Linked DNA regions of Homo sapiens: region 2 is linked to region 1. The links are contacts of gene promoters, found by promoter capture Hi-C in blood cells and fetal thymus (Javierre and others, 2016). All regions are on one chromosome and are shown on one strand. Each heading gives the region's core, a stretch centred on a gene start or on the middle of the fragment in contact. The rest is flanking DNA. Distances are from core to core; before and after follow the strand shown.

What was found. The method cuts DNA at HindIII sites, captures the fragments that hold promoters and counts their contacts. A CHiCAGO score of 5 or more calls a contact.
Region 2: a fragment that was not itself captured here is called in contact with the fragment with the promoter of SMPDL3A in region 1 in 1 of 17 cell types (M0 macrophages); the score reaches 6.5 in M0 macrophages.

Annotation. Positions count from the first base shown.
Region 1 is chr6:122,786,621-122,791,931 of GRCh38, forward strand. It overlaps SMPDL3A (sphingomyelin phosphodiesterase acid like 3A), which reads left to right and starts at 2,638. Exons shown (of 8, transcript NM_006714.5): 1 at 2,638-2,838. The coding sequence starts at 2,727. RefSeq lists enhancers at 2,448-2,949, 2,950-3,449, 4,553-4,722, silencers at 2,664-2,958, 4,064-4,358 and a cis regulatory region at 4,638. The HindIII fragment of the contact is 3,428 bases long and covers 1,196-4,623 here.
Region 2 is chr6:124,953,421-124,958,899 of GRCh38, forward strand. The region is part of intron 1 of RNF217-AS1 (RNF217 antisense RNA 1); the gene reads right to left. Among named protein-coding and RNA genes, the nearest start is that of RNF217, 6.3 kb to the right of the region's middle. RefSeq lists enhancers at 1,893-2,482, 2,483-3,071. The HindIII fragment of the contact is 6,758 bases long and covers 1-5,479 here.

The DNA.
Region 1 (5,311 bases), core at 1,388-3,887:
GCACTGTAGTTTTTTGCTTCTTAGTGAGTATTAAGAAAAAAAAAAAGAAAGTGGAGTGAGTAGAAAGAAGGATGGTGTTTCTACCCACTAATTTTAATATACTGTACTTTTTAGGATTTCAAACATTTCTTAAGTTTCAAAATGTGTATGCCTTGTTTTATGCTTACTGAAAAACTATTTTGCAACCAGTTACTTCCAGTAAAGTATATTGAAATTGGAAAAAAAAAAAAAAGGAGTGAAAAGAGCTATTTTTATAATTTATCCTTTTCCTAGCTTTAAATGTTTGGACTAAAAACTCCTAAGTTGTTTTGTTAATCCTTACAGTCGTTTTCTCTCACCAGCTCACCAGTTTTTTCTGGCTCCATTTTCTCCCATATTCTAGAGGTTGTGAACTGAGAAACTCCAGGGACCATCTTGTCCTCCACTGGAATGCACTTTGGTTCTTGCAAGCTTTTGAATCATCCAAAAGCTGAAGCAGGACTTCGGCTGCCCTGGCAGGACTTGAAACTGTAACACAAAAGTACCTGAGACAGGTCTCAATCAATTTAGGAAGTTTATTTTGCCAAGGTTAAGGATGGGCCAGTGACACAGCCTCAGGAGGTCTTGACATGTGCCCAAGGTGGTCAGGATACAGCTTGCTTTTATACATTTTAGGGAGACATGATACAGCAATCAATACATGTAAGATTTTTACATTGGTTCGATCTAGACGGGCAGGACAACTTGAAGCTGGGCGGGGGGTGGGTGTTTCCAGATCACAGGAAGATTTAAACATGTCCTGATTGGCAATTGGTTGATTGAAAAAGTTATTATCAATAGAAAGGATGTCTGGGTTATGATAAGGGGTTGTTAGACCCAGATTTTGTCACACAGACGAAGCCTCCACGTAGCAGGCTTTAGAGAAAACAGATCTTAAATGTTTCTTATCAGACTTATGGTCTATGTTGATGTTAATTACGCATGTCCAACCCCCCCATCCCCTTTTTCATGGCCTGAACCAGTCTTTCAGGTTAAATTTTAGAGTGCCCTGACTGGGGAAAGAGTCCATACAGATGGTCGTCCATTCAGATGGTTGTGGGGGGCCTTCAAATTTTATTTTTGGTTTACAAAACAGAAAATGGAAGCACCTTGCTTCCCACTTCAAAGCCCGTTTCATGACACACACTCCCATTAAATTACATGGGATACAAAACAAAGCTTTCTATGCTGGGAAAGAAATACACTCTACAACATCTTTTTTGAGGTTAGTAATTATGGAAAGCATTTTCTTCTGCAAAGGAATTCCACGCCCTATAAATTTAAATTATTAGCTTGTCATCTCCAAGAGATCAGCATCCTCATAAACGGTGAGAGAAGGAACACAGAATACAGGATCCAGCACAGTTTCGGGATTCTGGCTTCTTTGCCAGACTTATCTTTGCTTACTTCTTTGTATAGACTTACTTCTTTGCCAGACTTATCTTTGCTTACTTCTTTGTATAGACTTACTTCTTTGCCAGAAGTATATTCAAAAAAGTTCCGTGGAAGCATCAAATCAACCACCTCTACTTATGATTTCCATGCATCTCTGGAATGCATAAAGCATGATTTCAGAACATGTTCTAATTCTAAGACCCTTCTCTTCCCGGCAGTTTAAAAAAAACAAAAAACAAAACGTCGTATCTTTGAGCATTGGTTTTCAAACATCACAATCACTTTAACATGACCTGAAATGCTTGTGAAAACACAAACTGCTGGGCTCCAGCAGGTTTCTGACTCAACAGGTCTAGGGTGGTGCCTGGGAATTTGCATTTCTAACTAGAGTTCCCAGGTGGTGCTAATGTTCCCAGTTCAGAGACTTCAATTCGAGATCCACTGCAGTATCCATAACTTTTGCTGATTTCCTTCAAATCATGATACTTCAGGGCTCTCTGCATCACCTCTACTGAGGAGCCCTACCCATTAAAGCTGGGGTAGGTTGGCCCAAGAATGGAACCGGGATCGTTGAGATTTCAGCACCCCAGCATTTTTTAGTGACTGAAATAATGAAAATTCTGATCAGGCTCCTGCTTGCTTGCACATTTTAACCACTCGCTTTTTGCCCAATATTCTCCTTGTTTCCACAATATAATTATAAACTGCTGAGGTACTGCTTCCTCGTCAAGAACAAAGAGGTTAACTTCAGGGTCACAAAAATGTTTGCAGAAGGGATGAATACCTCCAAGGGCTTTGCAACCAGCTGCGGATGCCTGGACGTCTAATTGCTCAAAGGTGTTATCTGAGACTGAAGAAACAGACTTTTCCCCTGGATTCTTTGAAAATCCCCCTCTCTTATTCTCTAGCAGAATAAAAACTCCCTGCTTTTTCCTTTTTACACACGGATTTGAGAGATCTTGTTCTCCCTCCTTCTGGCTTTTACTAAATTGAATGTCTTTCTCTATCCCCAAGCACCAGTATGTCAGTGTTTGACATCAACTGCACCACTGATACACGAGTCGGAATTTGAGCTTCTACAAGTACATTCCTTCCTAGGCCAAACACTGACGCTAAGAAATACGAGAACAGATCATCGCTAAACAGCAGCTGAAGGTCAGGCGAACTGACTCGCTGCGGAATCTGCCTTTGCACGTGATCAGTCGGACGTCTACACCCGCAGCCGTCTTCTGTCTCCGCCTCACCCTCAGGCCTGACGGTCCGAGTGGAGCTGCGGGACAGCCCGAACCTCCAGGTCAGCCCCGCGGCCCTCCATGGCGCTGGTGCGCGCACTCGTCTGCTGCCTGCTGACTGCCTGGCACTGCCGCTCCGGCCTCGGGCTGCCCGTGGCGCCCGCAGGCGGCAGGAATCCTCCTCCGGCGATAGGTGAGTTGTCCGCGACCCTTCTCTTCCCAGCCGGCAAAGAGCGCGGAGCGGCGGCGCCTGCGCACAGCAGGAGAAAGTGCGTGGGGGCAGCTGCCCCCGGCAGAGGCTCGGGCTAGCGGGGCCCCTGACGCGTCCGGCGTTGACCACGGCTGGTGGGCGCGGGGAGGGCGACCAAGGGACTACAGCGTTAGGGCGTCCAGCCGGGAGGCCGGGGCTGGGCGGGGGAAATGCCCTCGCCGGTGGGGGCGCTCCAAGGGCGCGTCGGCCGGATTTCGCCAGCCTGGCTTTTGTTTACATCCTGCATCTCAGTTGTTTTGTTCCTTGGGGAAGGAAGGAAAAGCTGCGGGACTCAAGGGAAGAGGAAGCTGGGAGTCCGATGTCCAGCACAGCAAGAGGCCCCTAATCGGTCCTGAATGGAGGGGGACTGCAGTTTCCCCACCAGCTCAGGGAAGTAAATTTCAGCGTGACTCACACTATCTTCTGTCTTGCTCGACCGAGATCAGTGGCTTTTTCTGCCACTCACCCAGCCAGAGCGCGAAAGCACCCTCGGGTAGACTCACCCCTTAGTCTACCGTGGAACTCACGGGGACTTCATTTCACCTGGATGTCCACTAGGTTTCCTGCGGGCGGGACCCATTTTATTCACTCCCAGCACTTAACACAGTGCCCGTTACAGTAGTGATTCTCTTAAGTGTGCCCTGGACCGGTGGCAGCAGCCGCCGCACTTAAAATTGTTAGCATTGCAAATTTCCAGCCCATCCCAGACCTACTGAATCTGAAACGCCGGCGTTGGGCTTCCACAGTATGCTGTTTAACCCACCCTCCGCATGATTCCTTTCGGCTAAGTTTGAGACTCACTGGTCCAGAATAGATACATTTTGGTGGGAGATTGTACAATGCCATCCGAGCCTCCAGTTCCAAAAATCAAGGTGCCCTCACCTCCTCAACTCCCTTTAAAAATAATTGCACTGTTAAGAGGAAAAACAAAATTAGAGAAGTGGGGTTCTGTTTTCTTTTAGGGGAGAGTTGTCCCTGAGACTCGGTAGCAGCACCTAGTGCTGAAACCTCTTTCGCTCCCTCTGTGCTTTCTCAGGACTTGGGAGCGCTCTAGGGCAAATATCTTCTCTTTGAAGGCCAAGTCCTCACGACTCAGCTGTCAGGTCTGAAGCAAAAACTGTAAATCTGGTTTCCGAACTGTGGCAAATGTCAGTCATTACAAGAAATTTCCCCAAAATGTTTATGTATACTGGTTTCTGCTTTTATTACGGCTTAGCTTGTGTTCCTTTAATTATGTGACCGGTTAGGGTTTTGAAATAAAATGTCTCACGTTGCTTGAGGCCACACAATGGCAAATTCACCTGTGTTTTAAAGAGGCCTGAATGAGCGCTTTCTGGGGACTCTGTGAGTCTTCACACCTCCTGTTTGGGAAACTGCAAGGTTGAATCCCCTCCTACTAAAGGGGAAGGAAGAGGGGTTACTGGAGTTCAGTGGTCTGAAGTGTTACTGGAGTCACTGGAGTTCGAAAGTCTGAAGTGTTACTGGAGTTCAAAGGTCTGAAGTGTTCACTCAGCAGTTTCACAATTCTCCTTGTTTGTAATATTTTGCGTATTTTCCACTTGATGTGACAACTCTCCTGCCTCCTCTCAGCCCCACATGCTTGGACTTCCTTTCAGCATCCACCCTGCCTGGCTACTGCTTTCTTGTTTTGTGTTTTTGCGTTTAAATTCCCAGTCTTAGTTTTCTGCCCTGTCAAGTCCTGGTGGTCGGACGACAGAAGTTCTAGGAAGCTTCACCTGTGTGTTTTTGGCTACAGTTCTTTAGATTGAGTAGGCTGGGACTGGCTTGTGTATTGGTACTGTTAAAGCAAACTAAATACGGCCTGAGAAGGACTCCTTACTTCTATATTTGAATCCTTGTGAATGAACTGTAACCTAGCTTAATAGTCAGATGAGACTGAAAACCTAACTTAAGAGTATGCACTGGTAACAATAGCTAAGTTTGGCCAATCCCAGCAGCCATACTTCAACCATTCATATACTGCTGAGTGTTCAAACTATGTTCAAATAAGGCATAAGGCGAGCTGAATTATGTCTGAACTATGGTTCATTGGATTCTTGAGAAGTTATAAAATATTTTGGATTAAAAGATTTTCTGGTATAATTTTGAGAGTTTTTCTAGATTTGCTGAACACACACACATATTTTTGGAAGTCTTTTTAAAAATTTATTTTATTATTTTATTTTATTTTTTATTTTGAGACAGTCTCGCCCTGTCACCCAGGCTGGACTGCAGTGGCGCAATCTCGGCTCACTGCAAACTCCGCCTCCCGGGTTCACGCCATTCTCCTGCCTCAGCCTCCCGAGTAGCTGGGACTACAGGCGCCCGCCACCATGCCTGGCTAATTTTTTGTACTTTTAGTAGAGACGGGGTTTCACCGTGTTAGCCAGGATGGTCTCAATTTCCTGACCTCGTG
Region 2 (5,479 bases), core at 2,028-4,527, 2.2 Mb after region 1:
AAATTAAGAAATATTAACTATGACCAAGTTTAATTTATTAGAACACTCTTGCCATTGGAAGAAGTAACGAGAAAATTCAAAAAAGATGAGGAAGGGAAACTGTCAGAACCCTCACCTGAGAAAGAAAACTATAGCATGTAATGCAAATTTGTAGGTACAGAAGGGGATTAACAGTTAATATTTAATTTTGCCCTTTTCATTTAAAAGAATATGCCCATTAATTTCAAAGTGTGATGTTATATATAGTTTTTTTTAATTCTAAAAAATCTCTTTAGAATGATTAAGGAATTAGATTCTGTCACATTCACACTATCTGATGAGATTATAAATTGGTGATAAGTTTCTGTGATAATGTGTGCCAAAAGCCTTGAAAATACATCCACCCTTTCTGCATCAATTTAATTCTTAGGACTTCATCCTGTGACATATTAGGAATGCATATAAAAATCATGTTATATGTTAATAAAATATATTCATTATATATGATATATTAACATATATTTTATATATTTTATTGAAATCATGAATGATATATTTTTAATATAATGGAATTAGTTAAATAAATTATGACATCACTATATAGTAAAATACTGTATGGCTGCGAATCATGATAATGTAAAGATGCATTAGTTGCATGAAAAATGTTGAGGATACATTACTAATTAACAAAAGCAGGAAAGGAGTATTATTATTTTATTTTGGCAATAGTGCCACTTATTAATATATATTTTATACACACAAATGCAAACACTAGAAAGAAATATACCAATGTGTTAAAGTAGTTATTTTGGGTAATAAGTTCAAGTGAAGACCTTTTTTCCTTCCTGCCTGCCCGCCTGCCTTCCTCCCTTCTCCTCTCTCTCCTTCCTTCCCTTATTTCCTTCCTCCTTTTCTCCTCTTCTTCCCTCTTCTTGGTTTCCTTTGTGTTCTAAGCATTTGGGTTTTCATTACTTTTAAAATTTAAACAAATTATACTGTTTTGTTTTATTTTTAACTTTATCTCATACAAGTTGGCTATTTGGATTTTTCCTTAGGGGATTTAGGTGGAAAAAGAAAGTGAAATGATTGTATTCCTCTCTTTTCCACCTGATGAACTCTTCCTTTCATGATTCCAAATTCTCTTCCTCCACATATAAGAGGGAAGAAATAGGAAAGGCAGGATGAACATCACACTACAACTTTCAGAAGCAGACGTAGAAAAAATTCCACCACAGACATTGCTTTTCAGGAATTGATTTTTTAAATTAAATTATTTCTATATTTTTATACCTATTTTGATAATTGAGAGATTGGTAGAAAAACAAGTCAGGTATTTGCTGTAATTGTTTCATGGCATTTAAATATTATGTATTTTTTCTCCACAATAGTTTAGAAGAAATTAGTTTTGGCTTTGATATGTAAAACTAAAATGAGTCATAGTTTTTCTGATATAACATAACATTTTTAATGAGTTAATAAATCTCAACTCTTTAACGTCTGGATAAAAAATTTCAGACAGTTCAAAATGGCTAACTAGAGGCACCCAGCACTCATCTCCTCCACAGAGAAGGAGGAAAACAGTAAGTAGATAAACATAGATCGAATACAGCATCGAAGAGAGAACACTGGAATTCAGCAAGGAAGTGACATGGAATATCTGAGGCATGGAAGGAGAGAGAAACAAGGCAGCTGGCCCAGCTGGGACCTGAGAGGAGCCAAAAGAGGCTCCCCAGTGTGGGGAAAGGGTAAGGGAGAGATCCCTAGAAGTAGACTCCTGCAGTCCTGAGAACTGAGAATAGTATAGGGAGCTGCCTGGGGTCCTTGCAACACAACTGTTCCAGATGGGAGCTCTTGCTGGGTCTAACACATTCCCCAGACCCAAGCAGCGTGGTGCTATTTTGAGAGCCCCCACTAGCCTACATCCTGCCCTGGGGCCCAAAAGCCCTGCATCTTCACATTCCTGGAACCCTGCCAATATTGATAATCCCCCATGACAACCCAGAGCGCTGCAACACGGAGACGCTGGCTGAACCTAATGGTGCTGCTGCGTTCCAAGCCCTCTAGCCCATGCAGAGTCTTACACCCCGGGGAACAGGCAGTGCAGCACACTGGGGAGGATGCACCCAGGAAGAAGTAAGGCAAAATGTGCACTCCCCAGAGCCTGAAGAACACCACTGCCACTGACAGCCAGCCCAGTCACCCCAGCAGAAGGGCCACCATGCACATGTATGTGCCTTCAATGGACCTGGTGACTGGTCCAGGCAGATGTCATCCAAGGGCCTGAGGACAGGCCAGTCTTACTCACTGCTGCTATCACCCAAGCACAACAGCTGAAGGCTTGGGGACCAACCCACCCTGCCTGCTGCTTCTGCTATATGAATGCGTTATCAGGGGGCCTAACAGCAGAGCCAGTCTACCTACCACTGGTGCCTATGCAGGCTGTCTGGGACACTGGGGATTGCCCCGCCTCACACACTACAGCCTGTGCACGCGTACACTATTGGGGACCCAAGGACAGGCCTGCCATGCTTGGCATCATGCTTTCCAGTGCTCAGGTGTGCCATCTGCAGTCCTGGAGATTGACCTGCCCTGCCTGAACCATTGGCATATGCACACAACATCAGTAGGTTTGTCATTGCCAGCTGGGCCTAACGACAGACCCAGCCTACCTGCCAATCGTGCCAAAGCATGCTCTCTGGGGGCCTTGGAATTGACGCACCTCATTTGCTGCCACCAGTGTCTATGCATGCTTTCCAGAGGCCTGAGGACAGGCCTGCCCAGCCTGCCAACACCTGTGCAAATAAACTGGGAGCCTGAGAATTGAACAGTCCCACCCACCACAGCCTGCACCCACGTGTAACACCTGGGGCCTGAGGACAGAACAGTCCTGCCTGGTGCGAGGCCTGTCAGTACTTGCACGTGTCATCTGGGGGCCTAGGGATTGATTACACAGTCTGCCATTACTGATGTCTGTGCAATTCTCCTGGGGGCTTGAGGATGGGTCCTCCCAGCCTGCCACTACCACAAAGGCTGCCACCCACCAATGTGCAACCACCAGTAGTGCATGAGGGCCTGAGTATTGGCCTGTCACTGTTACTGTCATTGTCCATACCACACATGCCACCAAGGGGCCTATGGACATGCCCACTTGCTTGACCCACCTCTGCCACTGTTGGAACCTAAGCAAGCTGCCTGGCTGCCTGCCTGGACTTGCAAATACCAGTAACGGTGTATACACCTGGGGGCCCAAGGATGGGCCCAATTGTCCTGCCACCACCATCACCATCAGAGCTCAATAACCTACCCAACTGGTGTCTCCCATCCCAAAATAGCCTCACCATATCCTCCACTAACAATTGCAACCTAAGTCACTGAGGAAAACTCAAAAATACCACTGATGCTGATTACAGCTGAAGAAATCATACAGAAACTACACACACCCAGAATCAAAGCTAAAGTGCCCTACCCAACCAACACCATAGACACATCTATAGGAAAAAGTCTTTCCTTACAAAAGCCAATCCAAAAAATTAAGAAGTGACTGTTACATGACATGTGCACGTATCAATGCAAGGATGCAAGAAACATGAAAAGGCAAGGAAACATGACACCTCCAAAGGAACATAATAATTCTTCAGCAACAGATTCCAACAAAAAAGAAATCAATTGACTGAAAACGAATTCAAAATAATGAAATTAAAGAAGCTCGGTGAGATACAAAAGGACATAGATTTAAAAACACAAACAAATCAGAAAAAACAGTTCATGATCTGAATGAAAAACTCAACAAAGAGATATCATAGAAAAGGACCAACAGAAATCCAAAACTGAATAAGTCAATGAATGAAATAAGAAATACAATGTAGAGCTTCAAAATCCACTAAGTCAAGCAGAAAAAAGAATTTCTGAACTTGAAGATGCCTTTTGTGATAATCCCATCAGACAAAAAACAAAAAAGAATAAAAAAGAACAAAGCCTACATAACATATGAGACAAAGAAGTGACCAAATATTCAAATTTTGGGTGTTCCTGAAGGAGAAGAGATGAGTAAAGGCATCAAAGAAACTCCTAGTTATGATAGATAAATTCAGCAAAGTTATAGGATACAAAACCAACATACACAGATCAGTAGCACTTCTGAACAACAATAATGAAGTAGCTGAGAAAGAAATCAAGAAGATAATCCTGTTTGCAATATTTAAAAATAAATAAATAAATAAAATACCTATGAATACATTTAACCAAGATGATAAAAGATCTCTAGAAAAAAATCTGTGAAACACTGATGAAAGAAACTAAAGAGGACACAAACAAATGGACAGACATCCCATGCTCATGGATAAGGAGAACAAACATCGTTAAAATGACCATATTACCTAAAGCAATCTACAAATTCAATGCAATCTCTATCAAAATACTAACGTTATTTTTCATGGAAATAGAGAAAAAAACATAAAATTCAAATGGAACAGAAAAAGAGCCCAAGTATCCAAAGCAATGCCGAGCAAAAAGAACAAAGCTGAAAGCGTCACACTACCTGACTTCAAATTATATTACAATGCCATAGCAACCAAACCAGCATGGTAGTGTTATAAACACAGACTCTAGACCAATGAAGCAGAATAGAGATCCAGAAATAAGTCTGCATATTTACAGCCAACTGATTTTTCAACAAAGGCACTAAGAATAAACACTGTGGAAAGGACACCCTCTTCAATAAATGGTGCTGAGAAAACTGGAAATCCATATACAGAATAATAAAACTAGATCCCTATCACTCACCATATACAGAATAATAATACTAGATCCCTATGACTCACCATATACAAAAATCAACTCAAAAAGGATTAAATACAAATGTAAATCCTGAAATTATAAAACTACTACAAGAAGCCATAAGGGAAATGCTGTAGGAGATTGGTCTAGGCAATAATTTTATGACTAAGACTGCAAAAACAAAGACAACAAAGGGAAAAATAGACAAATGGGATTAGAGCAAACTAAAACACTTATGCACAGCAAAGGAAACAATCAAGAGAGCAAAGACACAAACTGCAGAATGGGAGGAAATATTTGCAAACTATTCATCCCACAAGGGACTAATACCCAGAATATACAAGGAACTCAAAAAACTCAACAGTATAATATATATAATAATTGCACTAAAAATTGGGCAAAGGACATTAACAGACATTTCTTGTCTGTATAAAAGAAAGTCTGTATAAAAACAGACAGACTCATAGACCAATGAAACAAAATAGAGAATCCAGAAATATTATTAAGTCCACATATTTATGGCCAACTAATTTCCAACAAAGGTGCCAAGAATAAACATTGGGGAAAAGACATTCTCTTCAATAAATGATGCCGAGAAAACTGGAAATCCCTATGCATAAGAATGAAACTAGACACCTATCACTCACACAGTTGATCACAAAAATCAACTCAAAAGACTTTCTTTTATATAGACTTTCTTTCTCAAAAGAAGTCATACAAATGG